4 separate regions of the Homo sapiens genome follow, and regions 1, 3 and 4 are each linked to region 2. The links are contacts of gene promoters, found by promoter capture Hi-C in blood cells and fetal thymus (Javierre and others, 2016). All regions are on one chromosome and are shown on one strand. The core of a region is centred on a gene start or on the middle of the fragment in contact, and the rest is flanking DNA. Distances in the headings are between cores, read along the strand shown.

Evidence for each region. The method cuts DNA at HindIII sites, captures the fragments that hold promoters and counts their contacts. A CHiCAGO score of 5 or more calls a contact.
Region 1: a contact is called between a fragment that was not itself captured here and the fragment with the promoter of ALKAL2 in region 2, in 1 of 17 cell types (total B cells). The highest score is 5.5, in total B cells.
Region 3: a fragment that was not itself captured here is called in contact with the fragment with the promoter of ALKAL2 in region 2 in 1 of 17 cell types (total CD8 T cells); the score reaches 5.2 in total CD8 T cells.
Region 4: a fragment that was not itself captured here is called in contact with the fragment with the promoter of ALKAL2 in region 2 in 1 of 17 cell types (total B cells); the score reaches 5.1 in total B cells.

What each region holds. Positions count from the first base shown.
Region 1 is chr2:453,715-456,750 of GRCh38, forward strand. No RefSeq gene overlaps it. Among named protein-coding and RNA genes, the nearest start is that of LINC01874, 37 kb to the right of the region's middle. The HindIII fragment of the contact is 992 bases long and covers 1,122-2,113 here.
Region 2 is chr2:286,517-289,926 of GRCh38, forward strand. It overlaps ALKAL2 (ALK and LTK ligand 2), which reads right to left and starts at 1,575. Exons shown (of 6, transcript NM_001002919.3): 1 at 1,497-1,575; 2 at 1,067-1,376. The coding sequence starts at 1,319. It overlaps LOC101927262 (a long non-coding RNA gene), which reads left to right. Exons shown (of 3, transcript XR_007085917.1): 1 at 1-108. RefSeq lists a silencer at 1,090-1,139. The HindIII fragment of the contact is 4,532 bases long and covers 777-3,410 here.
Region 3 is chr2:49,923-53,408 of GRCh38, forward strand. No RefSeq gene overlaps it. Among named protein-coding and RNA genes, the nearest start is that of FAM110C, 5.2 kb to the left of the region's middle. The HindIII fragment of the contact is 945 bases long and covers 1,742-2,686 here.
Region 4 is chr2:470,069-473,078 of GRCh38, forward strand. No RefSeq gene overlaps it. Among named protein-coding and RNA genes, the nearest start is that of LINC01874, 21 kb to the right of the region's middle. The HindIII fragment of the contact is 925 bases long and covers 1,128-2,052 here.

The sequences.
Region 1 (3,036 bases), core at 368-2,867, 170 kb after region 2:
TCGTTCATTTACTAAGGACCTCTTATGAGCCAACCGCTATTCTCAGTGATGGGGGTCGTAGGACTCAAAGTGCTTGCAGATCACAGGAGGAGAAAATTATGCAAATGCTCAGGGAAGCCAGGGAATGTCTACATACTTCTAAGTATTTGATGTATGTCTTAATTTCACATGAAATACTTTGATGTATGTTCAATTATCCTGCTTGATAAATAAGGAAATTAAGGAGGTTTTTAAAAAATTATGAAAATGCTCAGAACTTGCCCTAATTTATACTTATGCTGGAACTAAGAGAAAGATATCCCAGAGATCAGAATTTTCTGTTATGTCATTCTAAATAATCCTACTTAGGAGGTAAGGGACTTTTAAAATGTGGTAAAAACTCCCATCCCCTCTTCTCTTCTTTTCTTTTTTATTCTATTCTTTTTTTTTCGAGGTAGGGTCTGGCTCTGTTGCCCAGCCTGGAGTACAATGAACCTATCACAGCTCACTGCAGCCTTGGCCTCCCAGGCTCAAATGATCCCCCTGCCTCAGCCTTCCAAGTAGCTGGGACCATAGACACATGCCACCATGCCCAGCGCAGTTCGTAGAGGCAGGATCTCCTTATGTTGCTCAGACTGGCCTTGAACTCCTGGCCTCAAGCAGTCCTCTCACCTTGGCCTCCCAAAGTGCTGGGATTACAGGTGTGAACCACCGTGCCTGGTCCAATTATTCTCGAGAGGCTTAGCAAACAACATTCTCATAAAATATAACGAGCCATAACTGCACACACAAATGTGAAAAATCTTGTTTAATCAGTATAATATGACCAAATAAATTTAGAAACAATATCACACTCAATAACGATTTAAGTCGATAATTATTTTTAAATTATTGTAGTAGAGTAGATGTTTAGCTAAAAATAGTTTTTTTCTGCACAGAAATGTAACCGATAGAAGACCCTGATTTCCCCCTAACCAAACCCATGTCTGTGTTGTCAGGCCTGCGGGAGGCCAGGCAAGGGCTGGTGTGGTCACGCTGTGTCCTCAACGCCCAGAGCAATGCTGAACAGGTGGCAGGTACCCAGAACAGTGCAGCTTTCTAGTCCGGCAGAACTGTATTTGTAATGAAAAGATTCTGCATAAAGCTTTGTCTAGCATTGGATTAAAGTATGACGGAGATCCCCAGAGATACCAAGTCCCAAATGGCAAAAAGTACAACATGATCAATAAGTGCCATCAAAACCAAAATCTTATTCAGGACTGAACGCTTTCTTTGACTTGCAAAGGATCCGGCGTCTAAGGATGCCCAGGCCACTCCGTGGGGTGTGCAGAGGCCTTTCACGCAGCACTTTCTGCCGTCCTCAGAAGCTGCTGGCAGCTGCTGGCTTTCCCTTTGCTCCGCCCTGTTTTCTAGACTGCGGGGTCTCTGGACTCTGCATGGCAGTGTGTTGATTCTTCTGTTTCATCCTGTAACTTTGTGATTTCATGGTTCAGTCAGGGGTGGGCCAGCATTTCCTGTAAGAGTTTCTCATGAAAGGCCCGTGTGCACGGCTGCTATGAGAGGGAACCCATCGCCCTGCAGAACCTGCTTGTGTGACTTTTGTGGTTTGGGCGACATTGGGTCAGCCATGCGCGTGGTGCCAGGAACCTGCACTCAACACCTCCACATGCGGAGGACACCTAAAACCCAGGAGGAAGTTGAGCTGTCCATCACATGTGTGGTGCTTCCCCGCTGGGATGTCCACTCACTTGGGAGAGCCGTGTCTGTGGACGCAGGTTTCTTGCAGTCACGTCTGTGGCAGATAAGAGGGATCCAGGGTTAGGACTGAAAAAGAGAAGCAAAACCATAGAGCAGTGGTGGGCTGTGAAATACTGCCTTTAAAGAAAGTGTTTAACGGAATTTATCTTGGAGACAGTTTCCAGAAAGTGAGTTACAAGCTCAGGATTTCTGCCACTCCTCTTTACTCTCCTTCTCCATGGCTGCCTTTTCCGAATGAGCTGTGACATGACAGCCCTTCTATCCTAGTTGTGGGGATGCTCTCTGTCAATAACTCACTTCAAAACCACTAATTTGATCATTTGATCTTTTAATTTCTGAGATTAGAAAACACAGTACAATTACAAGTTTAAAACAAAGCTTAATCTATGTTTAATATACCATGTGAATATAAGTTTAAATTACCCACAGGATTTCTAAAGCATCAAATTGCTTATATTTCTAGGTAGAGCCTGAAATGTTGGCAAAAGAAATTCAAGTGACAAACAAACATATCTTGCATGTATCCTGGAGCAATTCTGTTGTAAGCCTTGTAAAAACATGCTTCAATGAGAATAATCATTCTTTTCAGGCTGCGGAATTTGCTTAATAATTACACCCTGGAAAGGGGTGTGCTGGTGAACAGAGCACAATAGCACAATAATTGCAGAAACCTTGAGCCTGGGCTCCGTGTTACCTCACTGAACAGAAAGACCCATTAGTCCTACCTCATTGCTGTGGGCATGGATTTCCCAAGAGTTGGGGAACATGGAATTGAATGTATTAGGAGGGAGGGAGTGTGGAGTAGGAGGGTGGACAGAAAGGCCACTATCCCACCCAGAAGTCACCAGAAGGTTGGACAGAGAGGCCAGCATCCTACCTGGGAGACGTGGGCTCAGCACAGCTGCTGAACATGCCATCCTAAACAGGGAGTTTGAGCAGCATTGTTAAAAGACTCAGGAAATAACACTTTATACAAATATTTAATGTCCTTTATAAATGCTTGGATTAATCCGTTCTCATGCAGCTAATAAAGACATACCCAAGACTGAGAAATTTATAAAGCAAAGAGATTTAATTGGCTTATAGTTCCACAGGGCTGGGAGGCCTCAGGAAATGTAACATCATGGCAGAAGGGGAAGCAAACATGTCCTTCTTCACATAGTGGCAGAGCTAAGGGGGAAAAGCCCCTTATAAAACCATCAGATCTGGTGAGAACTCACTCACTATCATGGAAACAGCATGGAGGTAGCCACCCCCATGATTCAAATACCTCCCACCAGGTCCCTCCCACAACACGTG
Region 2 (3,410 bases), core at 325-2,824:
TCAGGGACATTTATTTTCCTTGAAATAACAGTAACTGCTCCTGAAGCTCCAGGATTATGTCGGCTGTCTACCCCGTGGGATGCAGACAGAGACCACGAAGTTACAGAGGTAAGAAAACTGTTTTTTTTTTCTTTTAAACATTTAACTTCCAGTGAATAAGTCACTTTTAGGCACTTTAGTTTTAAGGACCTTGGGAATCAAATCCCACAACATTTCAAAGTTTTTAGAGAAAACCTGACCCTTCAAACAAAAAAATGGGTTACAGAACATTACTTTATCTAGATACATATTTAGAGTAAGGATTAAAAGACCACGTTTCAGTGAGGTGTAAATTAGTGGGAATATGCATGAACCTGGTTTGTAGGGTAAGAATCCCAGGGAAAGACTCTGCCAAGCAAACTTCTTCCACCAGGGTTCTCCGCACACAGTGGGTGGGGAGAACCCTGCAAGGGCGTTCTTCTTGAGTTCAGCTTTGTTTTTGCGTATTTACAGCCCTCTCCATCTTCACTCCCCCGTTCAGGGCTCCTGGCTGAGCCCCGACTGTGTGTGAAGTCACGCCCTCTGAAGAGGAGCATTCGCATCCACAGCTGACCCCCTAGTGAGTCTTCATTCACTCCTAACTTGACGCAGCCGGGATAAAACTGACCTTATCATGTTTGACCTGATTGTGTCACAAAAGCATTAGACGCTTTCATGCTTTCCTGGGAAATTCCCCGTGGGCCACCACTCTGGGCAGGGCCATGAAGGAGCCTGGATGCTTCCTTTTCAGTTGGGAAAGCTTTGCTGGAAATGCTTCCATTTCCAAAGTGACGGTTGACAGTTTAGTGTGGAAACCACCGACCCGCGCCGCAGCTCACGCGCGCCAGAAGGAGACCAGGCGCTTCTCCGCCAGGCCTCATGCGCGGACCTATTGCTGCTATTTTCTTTTTCTTAAAAAAAAAAAAAAAAAAAAAAGGAATCCTGCTGTTCAGTGGTCAAAATTGATGTCTCTTTTTGAAACGTGTTTCTCAAAGACAATTCTATTTCCCAGCAGCCCCGGCCCTCGGGCGCGCTCGGCCCCACTCACCCACTCGCTGCTCCGGCGAAGGCCCCAGCCCCGCCGCCTCCGCGCGGCCCAGGGCGCAGTCCCGCCCGAGGAGCTGCAGGCCCTTGTGCTCCGCCGAGTGGTGCTTCCGCAGCTCCTGGACGAGTTCCACCACCAGCCGCAGCAGCGCCTGTCCGTCCGCCGGCTCCCGGGGCTCCGCGCCCCCCCGGCCGCGCCCCGCCGCCCCCAGCACCAGCAGCAGCCCCAGGAGGAGGGGGTGCCCGGGTCCGCGCATCGTGCGCTCGGGGCCGCGGGGCTGGGAGACTCCGACACGCGCCGAGAGCTGGGCTCGCTGCGAGAGAAGGGGCGCGGGGGGCCGGAGAGAAAGTCAGCGGGGGAGGGGGACGGAGCGCGGGGCGGGGGAGGGGAGGGGAGGCGGGAGGAGCCGCTGGCGCTGGACCCGGCCCCTCACCTCCGCGGACCCCGAGGAACAAGCCGGCAGGTGAGGGAGCCGCGGTCTCCTCGACGATCACGCCCGAGGTCCCGCCCACGGGGAGCGACCGCCGCTGGTGCGGAAAGGAGCCCCCGGAACCCGCCCGCCCGCCAGCCCGGCCCCTCCTAACTTTCGCCCGAAAGGCCGCGTCCGCCGAGCGCGCTGCGCCTGGCGCGGGCGCAACTTTCTTTCCCCTTTGGAAGCCGCGGGTGCCAGGCAGCTCCCCGGCCGCGGGCGGACCTCGGAGGGGCCGCGCTCCCGCGCCTACCGCTCTCCAAGAAGGCGGCGCCGCGCGCCGGGCCCGGCGGCCGCGCTCAAGTTTCCAGCGTCGCCTTTGCGCGGTGGTCGCCGGCGAGCGCCGAGTCCCCGAAGCCCACGGAGGAGGCCGGGTGCGGACCCTCGCGCTGGCCCCGGCCGCGCCACGTGCTGGAAGCCCCTCCACCTCCCGGCCATGGCGCCCTCCCGCACCTGCCCGGCGCCACCCGGGAGCCACCTGCGCGTCGTGGCCGGGCCGGTTACCTGGAGCCGCCGGAGTCGTCGCCGTCTGTGCGCACGTCTGTCCCCGCGCCCCGAGCTGCGCCACTACTCCATGCCCGGCGGGCGGAGCGCACGGGACGCGGGGACTCGGCCGCTCCGAGCGCTGGACCCACGGCCGACCTGGGGTGCGCCGGCTCCGAGTCCCGCCTCAGACCTCGGGGAGCTTCTTATCCCCGCGCCCGCCGACGTCAGGCGGGTCCCCAAGGGCTCCGAGCGGGGCTTTAATTAGAAGCCGCTGAAGTGTTAGTACCCCCATGCGGATCTTCGTCAGTCCCCCCGCCTCACCTCGCTCTCGCCTCCCCCCGTCTCCCGCTCCCCCTCAACTCCGCCCCCGCCCCCGCCCGGTCCCCCCACCCGCATCTCCACCGCGTCTCCCCCTCGCCCGCGCCCCGTCTCCCGCGCCCCTTCCCTCCCCACCTTCCCCATCTCCCGTCTCCTCCTCTCCTGCCCCACCTTCCCCCACTCCCCGTCTCCTCCTCTTCCCCCTGTTCTCCTCCCCCCGCCCCTCCCCCAGTCTGTTTCCCTCCGTTCCTGTCACTTGTGACAGGATGAGAAGAAACGCCTTTACCAGGAACTCGGTTCTGTTTTTGTCTAAATGTAGATCTTGGGCTATTAAAAAGGGAGCTGCCTGATTGCTTCGACATTTAATAAGTCAATTAGAGTCCATCCGTTTTGGAGGGATCCGCTCTCCGGACCTCGAGGGGTCTGCCCCGCCCGAGCCCAGTCCCCAGGTTCGGGTCCCCAAGCCCTGGTCCCCGAGGCGGGGCGGCCAGGAGGCAGGAGATGGGCGGGTGAGGACTCTCCACGGCCCCCGAGGTGCGCACAGCTGACCACCCGAGGAGGGGCAGGACCTGCACCCCCTCCCCAGACCCCCTGCGAGAGGACGAGCGAAGGTCCCTCCCCGGCAAGGACCGCGCCATCTGCGCGCTCCTCTGCGCTGGACCCTCGGCCCGCGGGTCCCTCGCGCCCCGGCAGGGAACGCCCGCAGGAGGGCACTTGCCTCCCGGACTCGTCTTTAAGAAAGTTTGGCTCTTTGGCCGAAGCCCGGCACATCTGTGAAAGTTCAGCAATTTGCCTCTTTTATTTTATTCTTGTAAAATGTATTATCAATCAGTTGCGCACTTTCCCATTCGATTGGTGCTTTCTGGGCAAGAGCTGGACGTCTTCCAAGTCCGCGATCTGTTTGGGAAAGGTGTTCTGAGTGCAATCAGAGAGGCGGAGTGGGCGAGAATTAAAGGCCTGCACCATGATCGGGGCAGTCGCAGGACCGCGGCGGGAAGGTGCTGGCCCAGGCGCACGTGAGCGCGGGCGGTGCGGGCGGAAGGCTCCGCGCCCCGATCCCCCAGCTCCCGGAGA
Region 3 (3,486 bases), core at 964-3,463, 240 kb before region 2:
ACTGTGGAAAGCGGTGTGGAGATTTCTCAAGAGCTTAGAACTATCATTCCACCCAAAAATCCCACTATTGGGTATGGACCCAAAAGAAAATAAATCATTCTAACAAAAAGACATATGCATGCATGTAGTCATTGCAGCACTATTCATAATAACAAAGACATGGAATCAATGAAGATGCCCATCAGTGGTGGACTGGGTAAAGAAAATGTGCTACATATACACCATAGAATACTATGCAGCCATTAAAAAAGAGTGAAATCATGTCCTTTGCAGCAACATGCATTTAGCTAGAGGCCATTATCCTAAGCAAACTAATTCAGGAAGAGAAAACCAGATCCCACATATAAGTGGGAGCTAAACATTGAGTACATATAGACACAGAGAACGGAACAATAGATACTGGGGACTGCTTGATCGTGGGAGGGTGAGGAGAGGGCATAGGTTGGAAGGCTATCTGTGGGTACTATGCTCACTATCCTAGTGATGGGATCATTTGTACACCAAGCATCAGTGACCCACAATCTACCCATGTAACAAACCTGCACATGTACTCACTGAACCTAAATTTAAAAAAAAAGTAAAACTACTATAACATTGTATTTAAGACTTACTGCTATTAGACAAAACTAATTATATTTATATTCATGATATTTCATGTATTAAGCAAATAATTTACTAGAAAAATGGAACTGATAAATATAATATTGATGAGAATTATCTAAATAAGTTGTTCTTGTTGCTCAACTGATAGTGTCATCTTTGTGTCCATTTCCTTTCTAGAATCACTTCAAAAGACTTGGTCAGAGCAGGAAAAAATGCTTAAGGACTCAATAATCTAGGAACTCTACTCCCAGGAATGTATTCTAAGGAACAGATAAGAGATGTGTGCACCGCATGAAGATATTCATTGCAGTCAAATGGGGGAGGTCAACCTACATGCAAGTACAGGAGGAAGGCTGGAGGATGTATGACTTACCTGTGGGTGGAGTATTATGCATCCATTTACAGTCATGCTTCCAGAGTGTTTTTCAGAGTGGGAAGTGATTGTGATGTGTATGAAATTTTAAAAATAGCATGAATATAGAAGCAGTCCTCAGCATACAGTCCAGGGAATGTGGGGGCTCCTGATATCTTTTTGGGAGGTCTATGAGGTCAAAATTACTTTCATTGATACCAAGCAACAGGCTTCATGCCCAAAGTCCATAGAACTAGTGCTAACATAGTTTGGATGTTTGTCAATTCCAAATCTCATGTTGAAATGTGCTTGCCAACTTTGGAGGTGGGGCCTGGTGGGAGGGATTTGACAGTAGGGGTAGATCCCTTATGAATGGTTAGCCCTGTCCTCTTGGTGATGAATGAGTTCTTGCTCAGTCAGTTCATGGAGATCTGGTTGTTTAAAAATCTGGGACATCCCTCCCCTCTCTCTCTTGCTCCTGCCTTCACCATGTGACAAGCCTGCTCCTGTTTCACCTTCCACCATGATTGTAAACTTCTTGCCCTCACCACAAGCAGAGAAGATGTTGGTGCCATGCTTGTATGGAATGCAGAACCATGAGCCAATTAGACCTCTTTTCTTTATAATTACTCAGCCTCGGGTGTTTCTTTATAGTGATGCAAAAACAGACTGATATAAATACTATGGCTCTGGCTTTTGAGAAAAGATAAAGCTTTACTGTGAGTTGACTGGCAAGGAGACAGAAGGCAACACTCAGATCTGTCTCCCTGATCTTGGGGTGGGTAAAGCTTTTATGGCATTTCTAAGTAGTCCCAGGTGATGCCAATGCAGCTGGCCTGCCGGGCTAGTGGTGTAAAGAGTTAGGTTAAATCTTTTTCATTGCACATGCCCGGGATACATGACTTGCAGTTTTGGCTCTGTGCTACCTATAACAACTTATGCAATGGTAAATTGGCTTAAGTTGTTACCATGGTTACAAGACTAAGAATTGAATTGTCTTTTCTTTCTCCATTTCTTATGAGTATATAGTGGAGTTATCAAGAACCTAGTGACTGCTGAAATGCCAGAATATTTAGAGCTAATAATGTGTGCATTCAAAACATTTATCAGGCCAGATTTGGCAGCTCATGCCTGTGGTCCTAGCACTTTGGGAGGCCGATATGGTTTGGATCTGTGTCCCCATCAAATCTCATGTAAAATTGTAATCCCCAGTGTTGGAGGTGGGGCCTGGTGGGAAGTGACTGGATCATGAGGGCGGAGTTCTCATGAATGGTTTAGCGCCGTCCCCACTTGGTACTGTATAGTGAGGAAGTTCTCACGAGATCTGGTTGCTTAAAAGTGTGGGGCACTTCCCCCACTCTCTTTCTCGGTCCTGCTACTGCCATGTAAGATACCTGCTCCCACTTTGTCCTCTGCCATCAGTAAAAGCTCCCTGAGCCCTCCCCAGAAGCAAATGCTGCCATGCTTCATGCATAGTCTGCAGAACTTGAGCCAATCAAACTTCTTTTCTTTAGAAATTACCTAGTCTCAGGTATTTCTTTATAGCAATGTGAGAATAGATGAATACAGAGGCTAAGGCAGGTGAATTATTTGAGGCCAGAAGTTTGAGACCAGCCTGAGCAATATAGCAAGACCCGCATCTCTTAAAAAAAGTAAAAAAAAAATTAAAAAGTATTGATCAACTTATATTTTAATATAGTAGATATTAATAGATATAAGCCATTAAACCAAAGCTTATTAAGACCTTCAATAACTTTTAAGAGTGTTAAAGAGGTGTTGAGAATAAAATGTTTAAGAATTATTGGTATATATTATAAGAATAAATATTAAAACTGTGTAAGTACAGGGAAAAATGACAGGCAAGCACACATTGAGTTTTTTCTCATTTATTCATTAAAGAAACATTACTGAGTCCATATTAGGTGCCAAGTGTTCGACTCCATACTTTCAAATTTGTCAACTGATAGAAAACTAGGAACAGGAGAGAAATTCCTAAAATTGTTAAAGGGGCTCTATCCTTACCTTCAGCACCATACTTAGTGGTGGATTTTTAAAGCATTCTATAAAGATAGTAACAACATAAGGATACACATTATTGTCCATGTTAGTCAAATGTACTGGGCTTTCTAGCCAGTAAATAGAGAAAAAAATAACTACAGAGTATAAAGACTGGGGGAAACAAAGAGGCAAAATTCCCCTTATAACAGGCAATGTAATTGACTATTTCAAACCTCCAAGAGACTGGACATAGTATTAGAACTAACAAGACATTTCAACAAGATTGTTGGACAAAGAACACATGCAAAGATAAAGAATATTCATAAACACTAGCAATAATCAATTTAAAAATGTACCAGGAAAAATAATCAAGACATAATACTAAGAAAATCCATATGGAATCTGGTAATACATCTCAAAAAGACACAAGACATGCTTATAGAATATTATAAAATATTTTGACAGATATAAATGAAGAGATAAATAAATAGATGTGCCACATTCAAGGATAGTCAGAATCAACATTGTAATGA
Region 4 (3,010 bases), core at 340-2,839, 180 kb after region 2:
AATATACCTGCACACCTCACCGTGTTTGACTTTTTCAAATCCAGCGGTGTGATTTGACAATCTGATGAGTTAATTTTTCTCCTTGTGCTTTCCTTTAAAAAATGGCCTTGGTAGGAAAGACACATAAAATTACACTGCACATCTTAATAAACTATTTCCGTTACTAAATGACTCAGCATTAGAGTTTGCTGGGGTGCAGGTATGCATTTTAAGAATGACAGTGTTACTTTATTATTTACCTGTAGCATGGGAAAATCCTTCGGGAACACAAAAACTGGGCAGTTAGGATATATTTTTGTTTATTATATTAGTTGTTTTATGAACATGAGTGTTTCCTATATGTTCAAAAGAGCTGGAATGTGGGCTTATTATAATCTCTTTTATAGATCAAATTTATAGCTGTCTTCAAATAAAAGTTTGTGGAACAATACAATTTATTGAGCATACACACTTCCTCTTTCAGTCTCTGATCCCAAACAGATATCAGGAAAGGATCAAAGCTAAAAATAAATGAATGCCTGGGAAGTGCCAGAAGCAGGCAATGCCACATCTTTCTCAAGCTCCACAATCACAAAGACAAGCCCTTGCATTCTGACTGCCTATCTGCAAGAGGACAATGGAAAATTATAAATATAAAGTTACATTTAAAACTATCAGCACTGAAGAAAGGCGCACCAGGATGTCCACTTCTCTGAGATGGAGCTGCCGCATTCCTCGCCGGGGTGCCCCTTAAACTGAAACACCTTAGACATAACCACAAGCACTTCTCCCAAAGGGGAGAAGAAAACAGGCAGCCTCGGGACCTCAGAAGCTGAGGAAAAACAGAGTTGCCCCCTGACCCTGGAGCTCCCATCCACCCAGAACAAGTGAGTCCCTGCTCTCCTGCAGCTCCCAATCCACTTAGAACAGGTGAGTCTCTGGCCCCCTTGCAGGTCCCAATCCCCCCAGGACAGGTGAGTCCCTGGTCCCCTGAAACTCCCATTCACCCAGGACAGGTGAGTCTCTGACATCCTTGCAACTCGTTCTATCCAAAACAGGTGAGTTCCCTGACTGCCTATTTGTTATCATAGATTCCAGACAGGAGCTGCAGAAACTCTAACCAAACTACTAGTGCCCACAGGCACAAAAGCTTCAAGGAAAGCCTCCTTCCTTTGTCAAAGGCTTGGGCCAAGGTTGCCTAACCATAGAAAACAAAAGGCAGTATTGTTCTACTTCAGAAAACATAAAACATTGGTTTTAGAGGGTAGAAGAGAAAGCTGATCTTCCACTTCTCTCTTTGCCTCTGGTGGGGTGGAGTTGGGCAGAGTGGGGCCCGAGTCTGCATCCCACCTTGAGCAGAAGCAGAAAGCTCTGATGCCTCCCGGGGTCTGTACTGCAGAAGCGAGGACGGCCTGGTCTCCCATCCCCTTCACATGGAGGCAGCAGTGCTTTGGTTCCTCCCCCAGAGTAGTGTCAGTGGGGTCCATCCTCTCCCAGCAACAGTGGGATCTAACAGGCAGTGTGAGGTAGTGGGTCCGAGCACGGAGCCGAGCTCCCACCCCACCTGGTGTCTACAAGGCAGAAGGTGGTGGTAAGAGGTGGTAGCTGGCTCTCTGCTGACCTCCCTCTTCTCTTTGGTGTCAGCGAAGCCCGGAAGGAAAATGATTTCACGCCCCACTTGGAGGCACCAAGGGGATGTGGTCAGTGGCCTTTTGTGATGACGTCACAGGGTCCCAGTGGGAAGCTGGACATAGATCCCCACCTGGCCAAGCTATGCCTCAGCAGGAAAACTGCCTGCCAGCAAAGCAGATAAGAAGGTGCAGACTCTACTCATATAGTAAATTGATAATCTCCTACGTATAATAGATAGTCTCCCACTTATTGTCCAGGATGCAGTAAAATCACTTACCACATTAAAAGCAGCAAAATTATAACATAAATGAGGAAAGACAACAAATACTAATAGTGAGATGGCTGGATGCTGGAGTTATCTAGCAAGGGCTCTCAAGCAGCAATATAAATATGCTTCAACAAACATTTATGAATTACCTTGAAACAAATTAACAAATAGAAAGCTTCAGGAAAATCTAAAAACTATACATTGAGCATCACATGACATGCTGTGATAATTTTTTTCTTTAACTATCAAATATAATTTAAGAGGCTCTTCAGAAGCATAATAGTCTATATATTTACCCCTATTTTTATCCATTCCAATGTTTTTTTCTTTCCTTTCTGAAGTTCCCTTTTCCAGTTATCATATCCTTTCTGTATGGAGAATGTCCTGTAGCAATTTTTAAGGGCAGGCTCAGGCTTGCTATTGATACGTTAACTTAGATTTTCTTTTACTTGAAATATTTTTATTTTCCCTTGAAATTTTTTTTTCACAGAATATAGAATTCTGGGGAGACAGTTTCCAAGTGCTGAAAAGAAAAATACTCCAGCCTGGGTGACAAAGTGAGACCCTGTCTCAAAAAATAAAAAAATTTAAAAAAGATAAAAAGAGAAAAAAAACCTGTCTGTCCAGAATTCTAAATCCAGTAAATGTAATAGACTGCTCTGTTTCTCAAGGGTTTCTTAATCACTTTTAACAATTAAAGTAAGATGTTATACTATCTAAGGTGGTGTTTAATGTATGTGGAAGAAATGTTTAGGACAATTATATTTTAAACTTGGGGAGAGTAATGGGATTTAGGTGGAAATAAGATTTCTATACTTCACTCAACATCCTAAACATGTGTTCTAAACTGTGATAAGTTGTGTATGTATATTGTAATACCTACAGCAACAACAAAGAAAATTATACCAAGTTGTATACTCAAAAATCTATAAATAATTAAAAATAGAATCCCACAAAGGGACTCAACTATCTAAAAGGAAGGTAAGAAAAGAAAAATATAGAAAGGGAGAATAGAGGAAAATGATAAATAGCAGACAAATGATAAATAGTAGAATTAAGCCCTAAAAATATCCTAAATACCCATATTGTGAATGGCCTAAATACACCAATCAAAAGAGAAGTTATCAGAGT